7 separate regions of the Homo sapiens genome follow, and regions 1, 2, 3, 4, 5 and 7 are each linked to region 6. Evidence: promoter capture Hi-C in 16 types of primary human blood cells and fetal thymus (Javierre and others, 2016). All regions are on one chromosome and are shown on one strand. Each heading gives the region's core, a stretch centred on a gene start or on the middle of the fragment in contact. The rest is flanking DNA. Distances are from core to core; before and after follow the strand shown. Region 1 overlaps CDH23 (cadherin related 23). Region 2 overlaps CDH23 (cadherin related 23). Region 3 overlaps CDH23 (cadherin related 23). Region 4 overlaps CDH23 (cadherin related 23). Region 5 overlaps CDH23 (cadherin related 23). Region 6 holds the start of SLC29A3 (solute carrier family 29 member 3). Region 7 overlaps CDH23 (cadherin related 23).

Evidence for each region. Contacts are between HindIII fragments. The CHiCAGO score rates a contact against its expected background, and 5 or more counts as called.
Region 1: a contact is called between a fragment that was not itself captured here and the fragment with the promoter of SLC29A3 in region 6, in 6 of 17 cell types (naive CD4 T cells, naive B cells, monocytes and 3 more). The highest score is 6.6, in naive CD4 T cells.
Region 2: a contact is called between a fragment that was not itself captured here and the fragment with the promoter of SLC29A3 in region 6, in 12 of 17 cell types (naive CD4 T cells, activated CD4 T cells, non-activated CD4 T cells and 9 more). The highest score is 11.7, in naive CD4 T cells.
Region 3: a fragment that was not itself captured here is called in contact with the fragment with the promoter of SLC29A3 in region 6 in 5 of 17 cell types (total B cells, naive B cells, total CD8 T cells and 2 more); the score reaches 7.9 in total B cells.
Region 4: a fragment that was not itself captured here is called in contact with the fragment with the promoter of SLC29A3 in region 6 in 7 of 17 cell types (naive B cells, total B cells, total CD8 T cells and 4 more); the score reaches 9.1 in naive B cells.
Region 5: a fragment that was not itself captured here is called in contact with the fragment with the promoter of SLC29A3 in region 6 in 16 of 17 cell types (naive B cells, M2 macrophages, endothelial precursors and 13 more); the score reaches 15.9 in naive B cells.
Region 7: a fragment that was not itself captured here is called in contact with the fragment with the promoter of SLC29A3 in region 6 in 11 of 17 cell types (total CD4 T cells, naive B cells, naive CD8 T cells and 8 more); the score reaches 11.1 in total CD4 T cells.

The regions. Positions count from the first base shown.
Region 1 is chr10:71,738,315-71,741,447 of GRCh38, forward strand. CDH23 (cadherin related 23) reads left to right here. Exons shown (of 70, transcript NM_022124.6): 35 at 184-333; 36 at 1,330-1,458; 37 at 2,508-2,636. Among named protein-coding and RNA genes, the nearest start is that of C10orf105, 20 kb to the left of the region's middle. The HindIII fragment of the contact is 3,448 bases long and covers 1-3,133 here.
Region 2 is chr10:71,775,200-71,778,242 of GRCh38, forward strand. It overlaps CDH23 (cadherin related 23), which reads left to right. Exons shown (of 70, transcript NM_022124.6): 39 at 2,481-2,702; 40 at 2,990-3,043. Among named protein-coding and RNA genes, the nearest start is that of VSIR, 3.2 kb to the left of the region's middle. RefSeq lists a silencer at 2,807-2,962. The HindIII fragment of the contact is 4,509 bases long and covers 1-3,043 here.
Region 3 is chr10:71,755,491-71,758,783 of GRCh38, forward strand. All of the region lies in intron 38 of CDH23 (cadherin related 23), which reads left to right. All of the region lies in intron 3 of VSIR (V-set immunoregulatory receptor), which reads right to left. Among named protein-coding and RNA genes, the nearest start is that of VSIR, 16 kb to the right of the region's middle. RefSeq lists an enhancer at 2,105-2,640. The HindIII fragment of the contact is 297 bases long and covers 1,106-1,402 here.
Region 4 is chr10:71,720,701-71,723,941 of GRCh38, forward strand. All of the region lies in intron 28 of CDH23 (cadherin related 23), which reads left to right. It also overlaps a transcript of C10orf105 not described here. Among named protein-coding and RNA genes, the nearest start is that of C10orf105, 2.5 kb to the left of the region's middle. The HindIII fragment of the contact is 3,191 bases long and covers 397-3,241 here.
Region 5 is chr10:71,700,414-71,703,729 of GRCh38, forward strand. It overlaps CDH23 (cadherin related 23), which reads left to right. Exons shown (of 70, transcript NM_022124.6): 23 at 1,609-1,798; 24 at 2,136-2,281. Among named protein-coding and RNA genes, the nearest start is that of C10orf105, 18 kb to the right of the region's middle. RefSeq lists enhancers at 283-1,197, 1,198-2,111. The HindIII fragment of the contact is 7,797 bases long and covers 1-3,316 here.
Region 6 is chr10:71,317,612-71,320,740 of GRCh38, forward strand. SLC29A3 (solute carrier family 29 member 3) reads left to right here and starts at 1,648. Exons shown (of 6, transcript NM_018344.6): 1 at 1,648-1,699. The coding sequence starts at 1,699. LOC124902445 (a long non-coding RNA gene) reads right to left here and starts at 2,052. Exons shown (of 2, transcript XR_007062183.1): 1 at 1,951-2,052; 2 at 358-1,293. RefSeq lists a silencer at 1,445-1,894. The HindIII fragment of the contact is 7,819 bases long and covers 1-3,129 here.
Region 7 is chr10:71,796,149-71,799,327 of GRCh38, forward strand. It overlaps CDH23 (cadherin related 23), which reads left to right. Exons shown (of 70, transcript NM_022124.6): 49 at 956-1,072; 50 at 2,206-2,430; 51 at 2,963-3,132. Among named protein-coding and RNA genes, the nearest start is that of MIR7152, 7.0 kb to the left of the region's middle. The HindIII fragment of the contact is 1,972 bases long and covers 792-2,763 here.

The DNA.
Region 1 (3,133 bases), core at 301-2,800, 420 kb after region 6:
TAGGAGCCATGGGCCCAGGGCCTCCTTTGTAAAGTCAGGATAGGCTTCGGTGGGCTCTGAGGGTTTGCTGATGTTCCAGAACCCACTGGGGATCTGGTCCCTACTGGACCCACGGTGGGACCCAGGTGTTTGGGGCCAAGGAGGGGAAGGAGGCTGTAGGTCTCTGACCACGTTCACCCTCAGGTCTACATCACTGTGCTGGACGAGAATGACAACAGCCCCCGGTTTGACTTCACCTCCGACTCGGCGGTCAGCATACCCGAGGACTGCCCTGTGGGCCAGCGAGTGGCTACTGTCAAGGCCTGGGACCCTGATGCTGGCAGCAATGGGCAGGTGGGCCACCGAGTGAAACAGCCAGGATCCACCATGTCAGCGGGGCTCCCACAGCTCTCACAGCTGGAGGGGCCTTCTGAGCCACCCCCATCACCAAGCACCAGGTTCTTCCGGTCTCTGCCCCTGCAATCACCCAGTCTGTGGTCAGGGAGAAGGGACAGAGCTGCCTCAGAGCTATGCAGGCCGGTGGCCCTGCCTGGGTCATGTGGACATGGAGCCCGAAGGCCAGCCAAGGCGCAACCCCTCAGTGAAGTTGTTTTCCGGGTAACTCCTTCCCACGCAGCCCCAGCTCCCTGAGAGGACATGCTCGTCCTCTCTCCTGCTTCCTAGGCCCAGCCCCATGGCAGGAGGCGCTTGCTGTCGCTCCAGGTTTGGACACCCCAGAGTGCAGAGGGAGAAGTGATGAAACCCGCCAGTGTTCACACAGCTTTCATCTGTTCCGTGCATTAGGCCGTGTGTTTGCGGGTGTTAGCATGGCTTGCATGGTCTAGGGGGTCGAGGGATGCTGGCTTTGGAGACAAAAGTGTGTAGGTTCAGACCTCTGGCATTTGCAAGCTGTGTGACCTTGGCTGGTTGTTCCATGTTTCTGAGCCTCCTCTCTGTGAACTGAGAACAGTTGCTTTCTGTCAAGGTTGCCGTAAGAACCAAGTAGAGTCCAGGTAATGCCGCAGCGTGTGCCCACCCCAGCAGCGTGAGCACAATCCCCTCTACCCTGGGAAGACGTCAGTGCCATGGGACTCAAGCCCCACTCTTCCAGGCCAGGATACTGATATCTCCTAGCCCCGGAACTTTCCATGGGTGCTACACTACCTCCATGGGCCTGCACCCCCATTTTGAGGGAGATGAATCACTTCTGCTTAAAACACTGCACTCCCAAAAGCCCTTGCTCAACAGAGGGCCCACGTGGGCAGAGGAGGACCAGGGAGTCCCCCTTGGCTTGACCTGGCCACCTCTCCTCCACACCTGCTCACCCCTCACCCTCTCTTCTCCCCACAGGTGGTCTTCTCCCTGGCCTCTGGCAACATCGCGGGGGCCTTTGAGATCGTCACCACCAATGACTCCATTGGCGAAGTGTTTGTGGCCAGGCCCCTGGACAGAGAAGAGCTGGATCACTACATCCTCCAGGTGGGGCCTGGCCTCCCTTGGACTGAGAGACCACTGGCTAAGTGCCTAGACCGGTCACTACTCTCCATCCAGGAGAGAGCCTGTCCATCAGCACACTCTGGTGGTCAGTGCCCCTGCTGTCACCAAGTAACATGGGGCCAGCTGCACCCATCGGGGCCAAGAGCACAGTGAGGCTGACCCAGGATAGGGAAACCTGGGAGGGACCTTAGATACCCAGGAGGAGGTAGTTGAGGTGTCTTCCCCTGCTGTAAGAGCCAGGAGGATGAGGGAGAGCCTGGTGGAGCTGGGAGAGCCCCAGCTCTTCTACAAATACAGTGTGGCCTTGGACAGGTTATTAACTCTGGGCCTCATTTTCCCCACCTATGCAATGTACAAAAAAATCCCCGTCTGGCCTGCCCTGTGGAGGGAAGAAGCAAGTGCAGGCTTGAGGAGCCACGAAGGCTATCATTATTGCAGAATGGCCATGGCTGGGATGTTTGCCAAGGGCTTTCTGGGAACCTCAGGACTGCGCTTCTGCAGAGGGCTCAGCTCCTGCAGCACTTATGACTGCATCAAGGCTCCCAGGAACAGGCTCAGCCATAGGGCGCCAGCTCATTGCTTATAATATTACTTGAGGCTCTTTTCCCGTTTGCCAGAGATCATGGGACAGAGTGCGTGGGACAGAGGCCTTTGAAGCTAAAGACAGGAGCCTTGGGTCAGGTTGCAGGCCCAGGGTCATGGTCAAAGGCTGGCACAGCCCAGAATACAGTCAGAGGTAGGTCAGGAGGTCAAGGCTTGGGTACATGTTAATCAGATTCCAAACGAGGATCCCAAGTCAGACGACGATTGGGCAAGAATCATTTGCAGCATGGGGCAGAAGGTGAAGGCTTTGGGGAGAGCCCAGGGCTGGCCGGGAGAGCCCAGGGCTGGCCAGGCCACCCAGGGGTTCTCAGTGAGTCTCTTTGCCCTCCCAAATGCTCCCCACTGATTGCACAGCCCTTTTGGACTCCATATTCCCAATCCTGCCCGCCACGCTTTAGCCCTGACTCCAGTTGCCCTCCTCCTTGCAGGTTGTGGCTTCTGACCGAGGCACCCCTCCACGGAAGAAGGACCACATCCTGCAGGTGACCATCCTGGACATCAATGACAACCCTCCAGTCATCGAGAGCCCCTTTGGATACAATGTCAGTGTGAATGAGGTGAGGGCAGCCCCGGGGCCCATATAGCTGGACATACGGGGGGACCGTGGGCACGAGCCAACCATGCAGCCCCTGTTTAAATGTCTGCCTGGCCCACTGGTCCCTCAGATCTCATGGATGGGAACTGTGGCTCATTCGTAGTGATAGCCCTAACGCCTAGCCTGGATCCTAGAATGCAGTATCTTTTTGGAGTAGAGGAGAAGAGAAAAGAGAAAAAGAAGAAAGTTGCCTTTCACCAGACAGGAAACTGAGGTTTACCCCGGGAGCTTGCTTTTTTAAAAAATGTATTTATTATTCAGCCCTAAGACTGAGCCACTCCAATCTGCCCTGGCATTGCTGGGTATCATGCTAGGTTGGACGTTCATGAAGGCAGGATGACATGTGGCCAGAGTCTAGCTCTCAGGCCAGACTCCCTCACTTCAGCCCACTGATTGGCTGTGTGGACTTGCACACATTCCTTCCCTGCACCTCAGTTTTCTCTTCTGTAAATGAGGATG
Region 2 (3,043 bases), core at 544-3,043, 460 kb after region 6:
GGGCCCTTCTCACCCTGACATCCTCTGGCAAGTGAGGGGGGTCCCTTAAGGGCAAGATCCTAGAGCACCACCCCATCTCAACCCTTCCTGGACTGGCTTTGCTCAGGACACCCTTGAAACCAGACTCCCTCTTCCCCAGGGCCTAGCAGCCGGGGAGGGCCTGGAATTAGAGAAAGGGGAGCAATTGCCCTGCCAACCCCTTCCCCAGGGGGATAGAGCCTCTGAGCTGGGCCCAGTTCCCTCCCCCCTTTTCACTTCCTTTCTCCCTACCACACTGCCCACCACTGAGCCTCCTGGGGTTGCATCAGGGTGAGACACAGGCATTGCCCAAGGACCATGGTCCAGAAACCTCAAGCACTGTTTCCTCAACACCAGGGCAGGACAGGAAGGGCTCAGCTGAGAGGGCCTTTGGAGCACTGACTTTCTCCTCCCTCCGAGACCAGAGGAAGTCAAACCCACCTTCCCTCCCCAAGCCCAGACCTGGTCTCAGAGCAGGAGGGGCTCCAAGGCCCAACTCTGTTCAAACTCTCCACTCCCAGCCCCTGCAGCCTGCACACTCCATCATGTGTTTGTGCTTGTTTTCATTAAAAATAGTGGTGAAGGCCCCAAATATTCGAATAAAGATGACTGTCAAGGAAAGCCACCATGTCCATCTTGTGGCTCTGCAGGGCCTGGAGGCAGCTGTGAGTACTCTCTACTGGTGAGGGGCCCAGCCTTGAGCCTTCCTGAGTCCCCTTACTTGCCGGCAAGAATACAAGAGCACCACATTGCAGGAAAGGGGCTGAATTCCAGCCTCCCTGTTGGGGAGGGGATGCTGACATTTCCCACATTCCCAAACTCACCTCCCAAACTCCCTGAGCTAGAAACAACTTTAGAAATCAAGCCAGGTCCTTTATTAAACAGACAGAAAAGGTCCAGAGAGGGGATGTGACCTGCCCAAGGCCACGCAGCTCCTTTTCAAGGCTGCCAACCCTATCTGCTTTGGAAACCGTTTCAGCAAACACCCAATGCCCTCCACCCCCAAGATCCAGAGCTGCATATCAGAGGAATCATTGCCTCCTCAGGGGCAGTGACAGCCTTCTTGGGTCCAGATCCCCTGCCCATCTGTCCATTCTTCCAGTGGTAGCTCCAGAGCCAGCCAGTCCCAAGGAAAAAACCATATGCAAATTGCCTACATTGAGTTGTCTGTACCACCTGCTTTCTGTTCTCTGGCCTGGCAATGGCCTAGTCACGTTCTCTCTACCCAGACACCTTTGCAGTGATTAACACCTTATTATTTTATATTAGTCACTCATTATGATTTGTATTAGTTAGGGTCCTGGCAGGAAACAGATGGCACACTCAGAAAGGGTTCAACTGAAGAGAGTTTAATACAGGGACTGTTTAGGAAGGCTGGTAAAGCACCCAGAGACTAGCACCAACCACAGGAAGCCACTACCACTCACATGTCCAAAGGGAAAGAAGAGGAAGTGATGTTCTGGAGCCCAGTGAAAGCTGGTGCTATGAAAGGGGGACCCCTGTCCCCAAGCAGGAGAAACACAGCCATGGGCAGAACCGCAGTGAGGAATGGAGGGAGTGTGGAAGAAACACCCCCGCCTCTTTCTCCCCACTGCTTTCATCTTCAGCCAGGGCCTCCCATTGGCCACACCCAGCAGGAAGCTGGATAGCAAGGGAGCCAGGGTAAGGCAGTTAGTCCACAGGGGACATCTTCCCAGGTGGAGAAAGGCAGGAAGCAGGAGCAAGAACCATTTCTAGTTGATTCTTGAGTGCTGATTGCCGAGTTCTGATTAGCTGAATATTACTTGTGGTCCAATTGACTCAAGCATTGGCAGAGATGGCCGATCACAGGAGAGTATGTTGTAGAAGCTGTTCTTGGAATGAAGTTATGTTCTGTGAGTCTTATTTTTCACAGGTCAACAAGTTCTGCCCACGAAATTGCCACAAACCCAATGTCCTCCTTCTGGAAATGCTGAAAATATGTATTTCTTTCATTTACATGAACAATAGATGAAGGTTAAATATGGCATTGGGCCGAGTGCCTCACATTCTTGCCTCTTGTAGTCTGGCAGGACATATAGGCTCAATAAGACACAGGCCCTCGTAAAGCTCTGAGCTGGGGTGACTACCAGGGTTCATCCCATATGCCAGTCTTAATCACTAGACCACTGTGCTAACAAGGATCCCAAGTTTGCATCTGGCCTCAGCAGTTCTGTGATTGATTAGTGATGTCTGCTGGGGGTCGCAGACATAGGAGTGGTGGTGCCAGTGCCATCTTGGACAGAGCAGTTACCTTACTTGGCTTTTGGTGGAGTTTTTGAGCTTTCTCTCTCTACCAGCCTGTGACCCACCCCCTGCTTTCTTCTCCTTGCCCTTTCTGTTTGAGTCACATGGAGTGAGTTCAGCCCAGGAGAACAGCCATCTGGATCCACCTTGGTCCCTCTGGCCACCTGACCAAGGACGTGACCCACTCTTTTCCACAGGCCACCACGCACGTGTACGTGACCATTGTGGATGAGAATGATAACGCGCCCATGTTCCAGCAGCCCCACTATGAGGTGCTGCTGGATGAGGGCCCAGACACGCTCAACACCAGCCTCATCACCATCCAGGCACTGGACCTGGATGAGGGTCCCAACGGCACAGTCACCTATGCCATCGTCGCAGGCAACATCGTCAACACCTTCCGCATCGACAGACACATGGTCAGCAGCTGATGGCAGGATCAAGACAAGGGGCGAAACCTATCCAGGGATTGGCAAGGAGTTCAGTGACACTGGAGGGGGATGGAGCAAAGATGCAGTCTAGGGGAAACTGTGGGGGCACTCAGTGTGGGAGGATGAAAAGTTTGGTGGAGTGGAGCCTGGGCTAGGGGGTGGCAGTGGTTCCCCATCACAGCTCCAATGTCAGGGCCTACTTCCCAAATTGGTCAGAGGGTGCTGCAGACCTACCACCCCTAGATCCATCCTTGTCCCTTCCCTGTGTCCCCCAGGGTGTCATCACTGCTGCCAAAGAGCTGGACTACGAGATCAGCCACGGCCGCTAC
Region 3 (3,293 bases), core at 4-2,503, 440 kb after region 6:
GGTGAAGCCCCATTCCCATTGCTCCTCCTGAGCATAAACTGAGGCTCAGAGAGGGAAGGCCAGGAAGCAGGAGACCCGCCTTTCCCCAGAGTCCCACAGCTAGACCCCCAGCAACCTACAGAGGCATGGAAGATAAGGCGGTTCTCCTTTCAAAGAGAGCCCTGTGCCTGCCGCCCTATGCCCCTGGAGCACTCAGAAACAAGACCTGTCACCTACAGCTCAGGCAGCTCCAGGCAAGAGAGGGAACAGAGTCCTCATCCCAGCCCACAAGGTACAGCTGGAACACCCTTGGCTACAGGTTGTTCTCTGAAAAGGGAGAGCAGGGCCTTCGCAGACCCCATGCCACAGAGCTCAAGGTCAAAAGAAGCCTAAGTGATGAAAGTTTTGAAAATAGACAGTGGTGACGGTTGCACATTGTGAATGTAATTAATGCCACCAAACTGTAGGCTTAAAATGGTTGAAATGGCAAATTTTACATTATATATGTTTTATCATAATAGATAAAAAGCCCCAACTCATCCCAGAGACTCCTTAGCTCTGGGATGGGGCCTCTAGAACCCCTTGATCTCACCACACAAGTCACAGGAGAAACACCCGGGGTGAGAACTAGAAAAACGTGAATCCTTGTACAATGTTTTTCAATTTTAAACTTATTAAACTACCAAAAAAAGTACAAGTTTAAAAAATATTCGAATCTCCTCCTCCCCTTGTACCAAGACCCCCTCTGAAGAGATCATCCCTGTGTGCCGGTTTTTGTGTTATGGTCCTAGTTATATTCCCTGCAAATACAGCAGACGCAGCATCATATGACAATGCTTTTCCCACTGAGCACAGCTTGGACATCTCTCTGTCTCCCCTGCCTCATTCTGCTTAGAGTTTTATCACATGGCTCCCACTAAATTTATTGAAGCAGTCCCCTGTTGGTAGACATGTTGTTTCCATTTTCAGCATAACTAATAATGTAGCAATGAACTTGTGCACGCAGCCTGGCTCACTCAGCAAGGAAATCTGTAGTAAATTCCTAGCGGTCAAAGTGCTGAGCCAAAGAGTATGTGCATTTTCTTTTAGGCTATTGCTAAATTGCCCTCCAAAAAGGTGTACACGAAGCTTCGCTGTCCCAACAGCATGAGGAGGTTTGATTTATTTCAGGGCATCTGCTGACTGCAGGAGTTTAGCTGGGAACAGACGTGCCCTCAGAACCACAACCAACATAAACGCATTTCCTTCCCAATTTTAGCCTTTCCCAGGGCCAAAAGATGGGCTGGGATACCTTGTCACAGTGTCAACTTCGCCCCAAAGAGCTCTGAGAGGTAAATGGCTGTGGTCTAAATGTTGCCTTTCCGCTATTTGTTTGGGAATAAAGGCTGTTTTTGTTTTGCTCTACAATCCGACAGCGTAAACAAGCTTTCAGGAGGTTTGTTCATACTGCAAATGAGAACAAACTGTTTTCAGTCACTTTAGAAGTACCCACTGGTACAGGAACAGTTGCTATGCTAATTACAAAGCAAGTTCCGCTCCACATTACAGCAGGTTCCCTGCAGATCTTAGCAAGGCTGCATTTTGACGTGGAATATTGAAAGTAAAGACATTCTATAACCCAGACACCTCAGTATTTCAAAACCCCCATCAAAGGACCTTATTGTGGGCAATATTTGAGAAGCCAGTTGCAAAGCACTCTCTTCTAGTGATCAAAGCAGGTCTCCTCTGGACGGCTAGTAAGCAACATTTTGTGAGCTTTGCCAGGTGCTCATTGATACCTGTTCCCTATCTGCCTTTGGAGGGTGAGCTTGGCCAGATATCCCTGCCTAACTTCTATCCCCAGGTAGAGATTTCCCCTATGTGGACCCTCTATCAGATCAGGACTTAATTTCACTTTGAGAGCCTGAGGCTTCCTTACGATCTGGGCTGAGTTGAGGCTGGGGCAGAGGGGCGCAGAGGTTTGGGGACAAGTCTGTGGATCCAGCTGCTTTCTGAAGCCGTAGGCATCTCTGCAGAGCTCAGCCTCGCCACAGTTCCCCACCCCTTCCCCCAAGCGTGGCCAGTGCCTGGGCTGGCACTCACAGGGGAAGGCAGGCATACTCACTCACCATCCAGAGCCAGGCTTATCCTGGGAAGGTGATCAGGCGCTGGCAGAGGTAGCTGCCGACACCGCACTAAGGAGTGTGCCAGGCCCTGACACAGCAGGGTGGGATGGGAGGGGCCTGGCCTGCTCAGGCGGCCTTTGTCCAGGGCCTGCCTGGTAGCCCACGGGGATATATGGAGGAGGGAGTTCGGCTGCTGAGGGTTGGGCTGCCTGGTTTCCCAGGGAGGAAGCTGGGTGAAAGCAGACAGCACATTCTGCTGCGCTGGGGGGTGGGAAGAAGTTCAAAGGGAGATGAGCTGCCTAGACCCCTTCTCTGAGCTCACTGAGAAACCACAGCCCCTCAGCAATGCAGGAGCTCCTTGGGCACCAACTTCTCTAGTCTCATTCCCCTACCTCAGGTTAACTTGTACTTTCATGTTATTTCATAGTCAAGCTACACTCTTACTTCCCAAGGATAACATTAAGAGGCTGGCACTGGGGCTGGGCATAGTGGCTCAATCCTGTAATCCCAGCACTTTGGGGAGCCAAGGCGGGTAGATCACTTGAGCCCAGGAGTTCGAGACCAGCCTGACCAACATGGCTCTGACCAAAATGCATGTTCTAATTTTGCTCTTGGCCTGTTTGTTGGTTTGAAAAAAGGGTAGCTGAGTAAAAAGTCACTGTAGCCTTTGAGTTGGGTTTTGTTGGGTCCGTGGTTTAGCTGATCCCCATTCCGGCTTAGGTCCTCGTGCATGTCCTCCTGGATGCCTTTGTATCTCCAGGGCCTAGCAGGGGCTGGTCCCCACTGGATGTCTGACACATACAGGGTATAGAGGGGTGTGGAAGCCAAGACCTCTTCTCAGAAGAGGGAGGTGCCCTTGCATTTTGTCTCCAAGCTGCTGGGTATTCTCACCCAACCTCTCAGCGCCAGGCACCCTTAGGGCAGTGCCCTCTTACCCTGTAGGGCACCTCTCTGGCAAGCACCGGGGGGCTAACTGCTACCCACTGCACTGCCCCAAGCTGGGAAGAAGGTGAGTATGCAGAGCTAAGCAGGCCTGCAGCCAGATCCCAGCTATGCTACCCTGGGCTATGTGAGCTTGGGCAAGTTAGCATACATCTCTAGGCCTCTCTTTCCATGGATACAGAGAAGATGGTGATGCCTACTTCATAGAGTTCTTATAAGAATTCCCTGAGGCTAGGCATGGTGGCTCACACCTGTAATCCCAGCACT
Region 4 (3,241 bases), core at 742-3,241, 400 kb after region 6:
AACCCCAAGATGGACAAGAGATTTCCTATGGACTGTTAAAGCTGGAGAGGTCCTCAGGGGTCATCTAACTCCTCTTCTGAGAGAAAAGAGCCCCCGTCTTCTCTCAGATGACCAAACTGAGGCCCAGAGAGGTGTGACCTGCCCAGGGGCACCCAGCAAGTGAGTGGTGGGGGACTTGGTGTTTCCCCTGTGCTGGGTGGGCAGGGGCAGGCAGTAGGCATCCAGGGTAGGCAAAGCATCCGGCCCAAAGGTGTTTTCAATGCCCAGAGTCCCCATTGGGATTCCTGCACCTTCCATCACAGCATTCACTGCCTTCATTTTCCTTAACTTCCTCTCCTGAAACCAACTGAACACTTCATCTGTGGCCCCCATTCCTCCTGAGATGACAGAAGACAAAGCTTCCAGGGTGGTGCAGGCTGCTGGAGCAGGGAGGCATCAAGGAAATCTCACCATGGATAGGCATGCAAGGGCATGCTCTGGGCAACGTGGCTCTCTTCACCATCCTGAGCCCTTCCAGATCTGGACAATTGAAGCACCCTGTTACATCCCTCCACCTGCCAGCTCCTAAGGTTTCTCAGGGAATGGAGAGAGAAAGAACTGCACGGCAAGGGGCAATCCAGCCATCCCCAGCTCTGGCATAAATCCAGAGGGCTCTCTGGAGAAGGTGGCATCACTCATGTTGACCTTCACCACACATCCCCATGCTAGGCACCAGCCAAGACGCTTTGCAAGATGACTTCTGATCTTCCCCTCAACCCTGCAAGGCTGGTCATCATTGTGCCCAGTCTAGAGATGAGAAAACTGAGGCTCAAGGGGGCTAAAGTACTTATCCATAGTGCCATAGAGAGTAAGTGACAAAGCCTAAATTCATGCTTGGGTGTGCCTGACCCAGGGCCCTTGTTCTTTTTGCTCCAGTGTACTCGTCCTCCTCCCCACCATCAACATGCTCATCAGAATCCTTAGACACACTTACCGCAGTGCCCGGATGTGCATCGAGGCCAGCGCCTGCTACAGGCTCCTCGCTCTGCCTTCATACCACCATGTCTATACTCCCTGTCCTGTGGAGGTTCCAGGGCATCAGTGCTGCTGATTGAGGCTGTCATTCCACTCTTCCAACCACAGCCCTCTGCTGTCCCTGCATGAGCCCTTCACTCCAGACTGGGGTCCTAGTTCCTTCCTTAGCCTCCCCAGCTGCCTCTACTTCAGCTAACACTGTTTCCCAGCACAAATGTTCTTCCCAACCTTCTCTGCTAAGCCAGGTTTCCTCCATCCTTCCAAACCCAGCTCCCTCCTTTGGAAACCTTCAGCCAATCCCACCTTCACTGCTTTCTTGATCTTTGCTAGCAGGAACCCATCCCCATCTTCTCTGCAGTTTTGTCCAGTGAGCAACGATAGGAAAGCCTACATTAGGGCTTCGGGTGGCAAGAAAGAAAATCCATTCTATATTATCTTAGGCAGGGCCAGACATGGTGGCTCATGCCTGTAATCCCACCACTTTGGGAAGCCAAGGCGGGAGGATTGCTTGAGCTCAGGAGTTCGAGACCAGCCTGGGCAATATAGCAAGACCCTGTCTCTACAAAAAAAATAATAATAATCTAGGCAGAAGGAGAAGTGTACTGTAGCAATACTGGGATACCCTACAGGATCAAAGGAAAAATCAAACAGGGAGCGAGGCACAGATGGGCTCCTGGAATAACTGGGCCCAAGGATGCAAACCAGGGCTGAATGTTGTATGTGTCCTGCATTCGTGCTTACTGAGTGTCAGCCTAGTTCCTCTCCCTGGAGCTCTGCTCCTAAGTCGTTCACATATTTGACCCTACTGTGTGCCAGGATTGTTGTTCCAGAGACCAGGGATATCGCAGTGCACAAAGCCCTTTCTTCCTGTGGGGATATGGGCAATAAGCAAAGATAGCATGTATCAGAGGGTGACCAGGGGTAGGGAAGGCCAGGACATTGGAGTGGGGGCTATAATTTCATATGCAGTGCTCAGGGAGGGTCTTAGGAGAAGATATTTGAACAAAGACCTGAAGGAGATGAGGGCATGAACATGCAAATATCTGGAGGGAGAGCTTGCCAGGAAACAGCCAGGGCAGAAGCCATGAGGCCAGCACACGCTTGGTGTTCAAGAAACAGCCAGGAGACCAGTGTGCCAGGGCAGTTAAGAGGAGAGAGTGGTGGGAAGTGGGGCCCAGGGATGTGCAAGAGAGGGGCTGTTGATATTCCCACATTTTACTGCTAGAAAGACTGACTCAATCTCTCTGGGCCCAAGGTCAACAATCCCAGAGAAGAATGTGATTGGCTCAGCTTTGATCAGGCACCCAGTCCTGGACCAATCCCCTCTGACCGTCTTGGCAGGGTCAGGAAGAAAATGGCAGCTCCCATGCACACCACAGGGCTGAAGTGAGAGGTGGTGAGACAAGAAGGGGCAGACCCAAAAGAAGTGGGAGAGCCCAGGGCCTTACAAAGCAATTCACCACAGATCCAACAGGACAGCATGTCATAGGAGGGTCTAGCCTCTTCCTGCACTGCCCTGGGGGGTGTTTGTTCTCCACTTGTTTTGGGTGGGCAGTGGGTAAAGTAGGTATTCAGTTATTGGCTTGACAGGACTCATGTTGGGGTCAGCTATGGTTCTGCCAGTAGCCTCGAGGCTGCACTCCTTGTAAAAAGGGCTGAGCACTAGGCAGTGTCTCAGAGTGACAACAACGTCCCCCCCCACACACAAGCCCACCAGAGGAAACACATAAACACATAAGCCTGAGTCGCAGCCACGCCAGCCAGGCCGATCTGAAGCTAGACTGGGGTGATGGTGCGTGTGAATGAGCATGGAGCCATTGTGTGGGAGGAGGGCTCCTGGGCTTCCACGAAGTGACCGTTACAGTGTACAGTGCCGGCTGGGACCCAGTGTGGCCAGAATAACTTCAGGCCAAGGAAATGCGGGCAAGAAGTAGCCATGCAGTTCAGCCACCCTGGGAGAGGCTCCTGGGCTCTGAAAGGCTGCCGGGTAGGGAATGTGGAGGGATGGAACAGCCTGAGAAAGCCTGGACCCAGCGAGCTGCAGTGCCATCTTTCACCTTCTCCCCCAGCCTCCCTGCGAACCTGGAGGAGGATCGGGGCAGAGCTGGTCCTGGACAGGGCTGCAGGGGCCATCAGCGGTCGGACATCCTCTTGGGGATTAGAAAGACATACACGTCCCCTTGTCTCCCACACCCCCAGCCTCTGAGGGAGACCACAGGTTTTGGCA
Region 5 (3,316 bases), core at 429-2,928, 380 kb after region 6:
ACTGTTGAGAGAAGCATTGTAGAAACACAAGGAATGCTGGTCTTCTATGTCCATCTGTGAAACGACTTGGCCTGTTTTAAATTATGCCTGGAGTACCTAAGAGCCCTATCTCCTGTTTGCAAAATGGGGGTGTTGGGCTTCCCTTTATGGAGGCTAGGGAAACTGAGGCAATGTGCCCACAGCAAGATAAGGACACCTCAGACCTGGAAGGCAGGGACCTCCCCTCCTCTACCCTTTGGTGCTGCGAGGCTGGGAAGGGAGAGGAGGGCCGAGCAGTCCCTGGTGGGAGTGGGGGCTGCCCCCACCTCTCTGAAGGAGAAGCCTGCCTAGGGTGCCACAGCATTCAGCCCTCCATCAGCCTCTCTCTCCCCGGCCTCCCCAGGACCCATGGACAGGGGCAGATGGGAGTTCTCAGCCAGGGCAGCTCATCTGTCTGTTCTGGTCTGGTGGCCCCAGAGACACCTCTGGCTGGGGATTAAGCAGAGGAGGGACAGATTCTGCTGCCAAAGCACAAAAGGCTCCACATCAAGTAAGATGAAGGAGCTGACAAGCCTGGCTGTCATCACCGAGTGTCCTGCAGTTAAGAATAACACTGTCCTGATGTGGCCCCAGGGACTGTAGTCACCTCTCTCCCCCCACCACCACTGATCTTGTCCACCCCTGGTGCCACAGTGGCCTCTGCAATGCAGGGTCGGGGGTGAGCGAGGGGTAAGGGGCCACCTCAGGAGCCTCCAGGCTGGGAGCTGGGTCAGCTCCAAGGCTGGTGCTGTGTGACCCTAAGACTGGCCTGTGCCTCTCTGGGCTCTGCTTTCTCCTTGTGGAAGGTAGGGCGGTTGGAGGACGAGGGAGCTTCCCCACAGAGCGGGGGATCGGTGCACGCAGGGGGCCTCGGCGAAGATGAGGAGCCCTCAAAGGCTGCAGGGGGCCCTTTGCCTTTTGTTTATGACCTGGCTGTGTGGGATCTGGGACACTAAGGGACAGCAGGCTGTGGGGTTCACCGCCCCTGGGTTAGGATGGCACTGAGCACTGACCCCTTCATGACGTGGGGGTTATAAGTGGGGAACCAGGCTGTAGGCCGGGGAGTTGAAGGGGCCAGAGTGTCTGAGGTCCAGTCCTGAGACCCTGCCCCTTATCAGGGACCATGTACCTCCCTTCCAGGGAGCTCCACCCTCTCCTTCCTTAACACTCCCCCAGCCCTGCGACTGCCCCAGCTAACTGGGTCCCACCTTCTGAAACTGGGCCCCAGCCATGGCTTCCTTCACATGCCCTGTCATCTCTGGTGTCACAATCTAATGCTTCAAAGGAAGGAAGGGAGGGAGGGTTTGATGAGGAGGAACCCAGTCTCCAAAATCCAGGGTTTCAAATCCTTTCAAAAATCTTAGCTGGAATACAGACTCCCCAGCCATTCCCAGCCCCTCCCCTAGAGAACTCCTGCCTCCCAGCCCTCTCGGACCCCCCTACCGGGCCCAGCGGGGATGCCCACTTCCTGGGCCAGAGCCAGGATGTCCCCTCCCCAGGACCAACGTCTGAGCTCAGATACTCCCGGCCAGCCCAGAGACACCCTCCCCAGGCGCGGCTCAGTGAAGGGGTCTGCTCCCTCCCGGGCAGGTGGTGGCTGTTGACCCAGACCTGGGGGAGAATGGCACCCTGGTGTACAGCATCCAGCCACCCAACAAGTTCTACAGCCTCAACAGCACCACGGGCAAGATCCGCACCACCCACGCCATGCTGGACCGGGAGAACCCCGACCCCCATGAGGCCGAGCTGATGCGCAAAATCGTCGTCTCTGTTACTGACTGTATGGACCCCTCTCGCCCCTCACGGCCCCCACACCTTAGGCTGCGGGTGTCCCTGGTGACTGGGCCTCTGGGGTACCTGGGGCCCACCCAGGAGGTCTATGTCTGATCACCAAGAGTAGAGTAATACCCACGCCCCAGTTGTGACTCCTAGAGCACCCTGAGGGAACGGAGGGAGCTGGGGAGGGGAGCTGTGAGGCCTAGGCTGCTTCCTGGAGGGGCCTTTGGGATGGAGGGCTCTGAATCTGCCACCCTCTCACCACTTGCCTTCTTCCTGTCCGTTTTCTCTTGCACCCATCTTACCCTGTCCTTGGCCCCTTCTCGCCCTGGTCTTCCCAGGTGGCAGGCCCCCTCTGAAAGCCACCAGCAGTGCCACAGTGTTTGTGAACCTCTTGGATCTCAATGACAATGACCCCACCTTTCAGAACCTGCCTTTTGTGGCCGAGGTGCTTGAAGGCATCCCGGCGGGGGTCTCCATCTACCAAGTGAGTCTCTATCATCTCATTCCTACCAGCCCAGAGGTGGGCAGTGGGTGCCTGAGGAGCCTAGCCCAGGCTGAAAACTTTGCAGGGCTGGGGCAGGGGAGGAGCTGGGTCTTGAAGGACAGAGGCTCTGGAGATGTGGAGGGAAGTGTGGCAGGAAAAGGATAGGGAGATGGGCAAAGGCAGAGGTAGAGAGAGGGAGAGAGGCAAAGATGGAATTCTGGAAGTCATGTCCAAGTTTCTCAGGGCCTGATTATGGAGGTCTGGCCCAGGACCTTGGACCTTCCATTCCCTAAGCCTGCAGATGGTTCTAGAATACAAAGAAGGCCAGATGAGTGTAGCCCTGGGCATCTGCCTCTCCCATGCCTTCTCATAAGCCCCGGATCAGCTCCCTTTACTACAGTAGAGGGGCCTCTGTCTACTTTGCAGGGCTCTAAAGAGACTTGCCCAAGACCCCTTGGCCAAGCACATGGTCTGATCTTGGGCCTGGCTTCTTTGCCTCCTGTTCCATCATCCTCTGATTAGAGGGATCCTGAAGGTGCTGGTTTAGGGGAGATGACATCCAGGGTTTCAAGTCCTTTCAACACCTCTGCCCTCCGGGGGCCATTCAGAAACACTGGAGACCCTCCTGGTTAAGAGCATGGGCCGTGGAGTCCAACCAACGGGGATGTGAATCCCATCTCCAGCACCAGGGTGCTGTGTACTTGGAGCAAACTGCTTAACCTCTCTGAGTCTCAGCTTCTCATCTGTGAAATGGAGATAATAATAGTACCTGCCTGGCTGTGCTGTGGGGACTCAATCAGACACACGTATGAAGCACCCTGGAACTTGGACACAGGAAACACAGTAGCTGTGGTGATCACTGTGTGTCGGTCACGAGGGCTTATACCTGAGACACAATGGCTGTATCAGGTTAGCCTGTTCTCATTAGAAGAAGATGGGGTTGTTTGTCAGGATGCCAGAGGGGGTGAGCTTGGTGGTGCCCCACAGGCCCGCTGTGCCTCAGTTTCTTCATCTGTAGGAGGAGGTGAATGGTGT
Region 6 (3,129 bases), core at 398-2,897:
TTTTTTCCAACGTAAAGAGGCTAAAAATAAGGCCTGATGACTAAACTAACATATACACTATCACATTTTGGGGGTGGGGAGTGTCTTCCTTGGAAGTGATGGAAATTTGCATTGAGTGCCTGGCATGGATCACCTGACTTAATTCTCCCGACAGTCCTAAGCCGACCCTGGGTTTCAGAGAGGTTTAGTAATTTTACCATTATCCCTCAGCTTGTAAGCCTGGAGCTAAGCCCCTTCCTCTCCTGGGCCGGGGGGCTTTCTGACAATTTAGGGTGCTAGTCTCCAAACTCGCCTGCTGGTGGAGCTTGTTAAATAGATCCATTCTGGATCCCCATTCTGCACCCCCTGAGTGATGGGTTGTATTAATCCAGGTATTTATTGAACACAAATTATGTGCCCACGATGAGGGAAGAGCAAACAAAGCAGATACAGCACCACCCTCAGGGATTGGGGAGTGGCAGCAACCCTCCTGGGGAGAGGTCCCCAGAATCTGGATGTGTACTCGAGACTTTTATGATCAGGCCAGTGTTTGGGGAATGGTGGTTATAAAATGAGAGGCTGGGGCAGGGAGTGGGGATGTTCTGAGAACCTGTCCACACACTGACAGCCTCAATGGGTTCTGTGGCACCCCTGAGCCCTGGGATGGCAACTGCAAGAATTTACTATCCATGGTCACAGATCTTCAGGCCCTGTGAAGCATCCAGATCCCCGCTCTGAATAGGCCAACTGGGCCAGGACCGGGAGTCAGGAAGGTTTCCGCCTTTTTTTTTTTTTTTTTTTTTTTGAGATGGAGTCTTGCTCTGTCGCCCAGGCTCCAGGCTGGAGTGCAGTGGCACCATCTCGGTTCACTGAAATCTCCGCCTCCCGGGTTCAAGCGATTCTCCTGCCTCAGCCTCCCACATAGCTGGGATCACTGGCACGCACCACCATGCCCGGCTACTTTTGTATTTTCAGTAGAGACGAGGTTTCGCCATGTTGGCCAGGCTGGTCTCAAACTCCCGACCTCAGGTGATCCGCCTGCTTCGGCCTCCCAAAGTGCTGGGATTACAGGCGTGAGCCACCGCGCCCGGCCCCTGCTTTCTTAAAGAACACGCGGCAGCTGTGTGTTACACGCTATGGCTGAGGTCAAGTGTGAGGGCTGGAATTGCTGACTGCCATGTTCTGGGTCTACTGAAAATAGCTGCCTGGCCTGGGAGGCCCAGTTCAGTCCGGGTGTGGGTCCCGCTTCACCTCCAGAGCAGCGGCAGCCGGTAAGGGTAGAAGCGGCCTTTGGAGAGGGGTCTCTGCAGCGGCCTGGGGACAAGATGAGGGCTCCTTTGAGTCCTGGGGTGCAGGTTATAGTAGCTAAAGGGGAGGTCTGAGACAGTGGGGTCTGGCTCCAAGGTAAAGAAGGAGCAGCAACCAAAAGGCCTGATGCGCAGCGCACCCATCGCAAGCATGGGCAGTGCGTTTAAGACTGGGTGACTCACTTTTTCTCCTATAAAATGGGCGCACGCAGGCCCCAGCTCAGCGCCAGAAGGGGGAGCCCCGGCGCGCCGGCAGAAGACAAAGGAAAAAAGCGTGTTTGCAAACGGGGAAGCGGCGGCGTGCTGCCGCGAGGGGCGGGGCGGGGCCGGGGGAGGAGCCCGCCTGCCGCCTGCCAAGCCCAGTGGTCCTGGCCGTGCGCCGGAGGCAGCGGCGGCGTGGCGCAGCGGCGACAGTAAGTGCGGGCCGGCTCGGGCTCTTCCGGCTACGGTCCCGGCCGCCCCCAGACTCGCGCTCAGCGACCTCCCTCCCGGGCCCTGGGGGCGGCTGCGGGCTGCCAGGGGAGCCGCAGGACCCTACCCCATCCGTGGTCCCTTCCCCACCGTCCCTCCTCTCTCTCCTTGCTCTCTGCCACCCCTCTTTCTGGGTCTCTATCTTCTCTTCCCCAAATCCTCTCCCCTCCTCCTCCCTGAGACTGGACCTCACCGCCTGTATGGTGGGGGCCTGGTATGGACCCGTCGGCCCGAAGTATCCAGACGGTGGCTGATTCTCTCGGTCCCAGCTGCGGGGCCTGAGGCTGGGGCTGTTTACACCGCAAAGCCGGTTCTGCCGCGGCCAGTAGGCGGTGCCCTGCGCTTCCCAGTGCCTTCCCACAGGTTAGCCCTACCAGCTCCCCACCCCGGTTCACAGCCCAGGAGATCGAGGCACAGAGGGGCGAGCCACCTAGCCAGAGTCAGGAACCTCCTTGGAACCAGCACCCAGGCTTCCCAGCCCAGATGAGGTTTTGCCGCGGCCCCAGCAGTGCCTGCCTCCTTGTGTGGGGCTGTCTGTCTGTGCATGGCCGGGCTCCCGCAGGTGACCCAGGAGCACGTTCCAGGCCACAGCCAGCTTGTTTTGGGGAAGGTTGGGCACTTCCTTGCCTGCCTTTCTCTTTATTTTTTAATCCAGAAGCCAGCAGCTAGCTTTTATAAAGACTAATAAGACTTTGCTCACTCCAGTGCCCTGGCCTGTGACCCTGGTTAGAGAAAATTCCTGGCTCCTTCTTCAGAAGCTCAGTCAAGCCTTGACAAATAGACGCTAGGAACTGAGAAGGGGGCCCTAGCCAGGTGTGGTCCTGAGTGACAGGGCTGGTGGACCTTCTAGCCGCCCCCACAGGTAGCTGGAGCCTCTGGAAAGAACCACTTGCCGGTTCTCTCTTGTTCTATGTGGGTGGGTCATGATTATTTTTTACATTTTAAACACTAATTTTTAAAATGTAACAAGTGAGCTTGTTACATTTGTACCATTTTGTGCCAGACAAAATAGCATAGACTGGGTGGCTTAAACAAAATTTGTTTCTCATGGATCTGGAGGCTGGGAAGGGCAAGATCAAGGTGCTGGTTGATTTGGTTTCTGATGAGGGCTCTCTTCCTGGCTTGCAGACAGCCTCCTTCTTGCTGTGCCTTCACATGGCTTTTCCTCTATGAGTGGGTGCATGTGGAAAAAGCGATTTTCCACACAGTGAGCTTCCAGACAGTGAGCTTGTTAATGCTGGCCTCCATGCGAATCCAGGCTGGGGAGGGGCTCTGCTAACCAGGGGAGTTTAAAATAGACTTGCTGGCTGGATGCATTGCACTTGGGCATCCAGTGGCCCCCCACCTGCTGGCTCCAGGGTACATGCTACCC
Region 7 (3,179 bases), core at 528-3,027, 480 kb after region 6:
AAGGGAATCTCAGATACCCCTGTACCTGAGAGGGAGAGGAGGTCTCACTCTGGGATGAAGCCAATGGGAGGAGAAGCCACCAGGCCCTCTAACAGGCAGGAACAAGAAAGGTCCCAAGAAACGCAGCACTGAGGTCAGCCAAACTAGGTCTGTCCAGTCCCCGCCCATGCTTCTGGGGGGTTCCTCTCTGATTTGGGGAGCAGGCAGGGACTCTGGGAGGCAGTGGGTAGAACAGAAGGAAACCCCTTGCTAGGACTGCCATGGAACCAATGCTCCTGTCCCACAATCAGCCCATGTCACTCCCTATTTAATCAAGACAAAGGGATGGGCCTGAAGTATCCAGACGGTCCCACCACTGTCCCCTCCAGGGAACCCCTCAGGGCTTTTCAGCTACCATGACTTTCCTTTAAACTTGATCTCCCTAGAATCTAAGCATTTTTTAAATGGTGATAAAATACACATAACGAAATTTACCATTTTAGCCACTTTTTAATTGTAGAGTCCAGTAGTGTTAAGTACATTTGCATTGTTAAGGAATACAGCAGTTTTTAAACAAGCAGTTACATAGCTTCTGTGTGCCACGCACTGTTCTAAGTACTTTACAAATGGAAACTCATTTTGTTTTTCTAATCCTCAAAATAGTAGGGTATTGAGAAAAGGATGGGTTGACAGTCGGTAGTGTAATTATCTAGTTTTACAAATGTGGACACAGAGGTGCAGAGAGGTGACATAACTTCCCCAACATCACCTGCTTAGTAAGCATCATGGGAGGGGCAGAGCCACGTGACCCAAGCTTATGAGGAGGCTGTGGGCCCACCCCAGCCACAAGTCCCAGATTCTACTGGGGACCGTCATCCTTTGTGGGGATTGGGAGGGTTTGGCCAGGAGCACCCCTGGGAAGGGCAGATTTTAGGGGGTTCTTCTCAGGCTGAACCTGGCCTGGTCTGGTCCACAGGATCTGTAATGGTGAAGTCCCCCATGAATCGGGAGCTGGTTGCCACCTATGAGGTCACTCTCTCAGTGATTGACAATGCCAGCGACCTACCAGAGCGCTCTGTCAGTGTGCCAAATGGTAAGGTTCCCTGCAGACATCTCTCATTGGTCACTCAGAGCCAATCAGGGCAGGGGGCAGGTGGGGAACAGGCACTGGTCTGTCCCCAGGGAGGGAGCAACAAGACCCAGTTGCTCTGGGGGCCAGGAGTCAGGCAACACAAGAGGCATGAAAGGTGGCAGCCACCGTGAGGCCCAGGGTGGTGATGGCTACATAGAGCTCAGCAGTGGAGGATCCAGAAGCTCAGAATTGTGTGTGATCTGAACCCCCAGGCTGAGAGTAGGAAGGAGGCTTGGTAGAGCCTGGAACAGATTGAGAAAAAATGGTTAGACAGAGGCTTAGGTTCAGCCAGCAGAACTGGTAACCAGGGTGTGGGTAGGATGTGAGATGGGAACCCTATGATCTTATAGGAAGCCACAGGGTTAGCACAAAGGAAGCAAAGAATGAGGGGAGGTAACCTGAGGCCACAGACACTGCTTTGGGGGTGCAGGCACTTACGGTGGAGAACGGAGGGGCCCAGTGTTACCTTCTGCCAATCGGGCCCAGGCCATCCTGCCTGCAGCCTGAGGCGTGGGCTGGGAGGGGGCTGCCAGAGGGGTGGATTTTGTGTGGGCAGAGCGAGAGTTGAGTGGGGGAAGTGGGGATGGGGTGGCCTCAAGTTGCCTCAGCCATGAGGTACAGACAGCTGCTATAGGGGAAGCCAGGCCTGGCAGATGATGACTGCTTATCTTCACAGCCCAGAAGCCCACATTTTCCGGAAGGAAGGGCAGACTTGGTCATCTCTTCCATGTCAGAGGCTCAGATGGTTAAGGGCCCAGGCCGGTTACATAGAGGGGATACATACAGCTCAGACAGGATCTAGGGTCTTAAAGATTATCTTGCCCTTTCTCATTGAGCAGTTTAGGAAACCGGGGCACAGGAAGGGCCGAGGGCTCCACCAGGGTCACCTAGCCCTTCCTCTTATGGAACAGCAAGTGAGCACACCACTGGAAAGCCTCCTGTGCTGCAGCCTGAGGGTCAGGTCAATCCTCAGGCAGCCTCTGGGGGGCTGTGGGATGCTGCCATGCTCACCCGGCTTGGCTGAGGCTAAGGAAGGCCTGGCCCAGCCACACTAGTGTCCTTCCCCTCTCCCTCACTCCCTGCCTCCACCACAGCCAAGCTGACTGTCAACGTCCTGGACGTCAATGACAATACGCCCCAGTTCAAGCCCTTTGGGATCACCTACTACATGGAGCGGATCCTGGAGGGGGCCACCCCTGGGACCACACTCATTGCTGTGGCAGCCGTGGACCCTGACAAGGGCCTTAATGGGCTGGTCACCTACACCCTGCTGGACCTGGTGCCCCCAGGGTATGTCCAGCTGGAGGACTCCTCGGCAGGTAGGTTAGAAATCTGTCAGAGGAGGGCTGGGGGACATATATCTCTGCTTGCTTAGTCCCCAAGAGAGACCACAGCCCCTCTGTGGCTCCTCAGTGGACTGGGCCAGATCCAAGATGGCCAGCATTCCATGCCAGATTCCAGATGCCCAAACCAGGGGAAGGGACAGAGTGCTTACTCCTGGGTTGGGATGGAAGCCTCTTGATGTCTGCCGGAAACCTGGGATACCCCACCACCCAAGCTCCTACTATTAGTACCACCGAGGGAGCAGGAAGGCCAAGAAGGAGGTGTCTCAGGTCCTGGGCTAGTTGATGCTCATTCCTGTGACTGGGAGAAGCTTTTTCACCCTCCATAAGAAAAACTGGACACCAGTCCCTCCCTGCCGTGTGCCCTGCAACTGGGTGGTGCTGCCTGACCACCCTCCTTCAAGTGACCACAGCTGCCCCTCGGAGTCCAGGTCTTTCTCCTCATACTTTGGAGAGCTGCCATGAATGAGGAGTGGCCAAAATGGCAGTGGGAGCCTCTGTGTCTTAGGGAAGGTCATTGCCAACCGGACAGTGGACTACGAGGAGGTGCACTGGCTCAACTTTACCGTGAGGGCCTCAGACAACGGGTCCCCGCCCCGGGCAGCTGAGATCCCTGTCTACCTGGAAATCGTGGACATCAATGACAACAACCCCATCTTTGACCAGCCCTCCTACCAGGTGGGTGGCCAGGCCACAGGCTGGGTCCAGGACCTGCGCCCATTCCT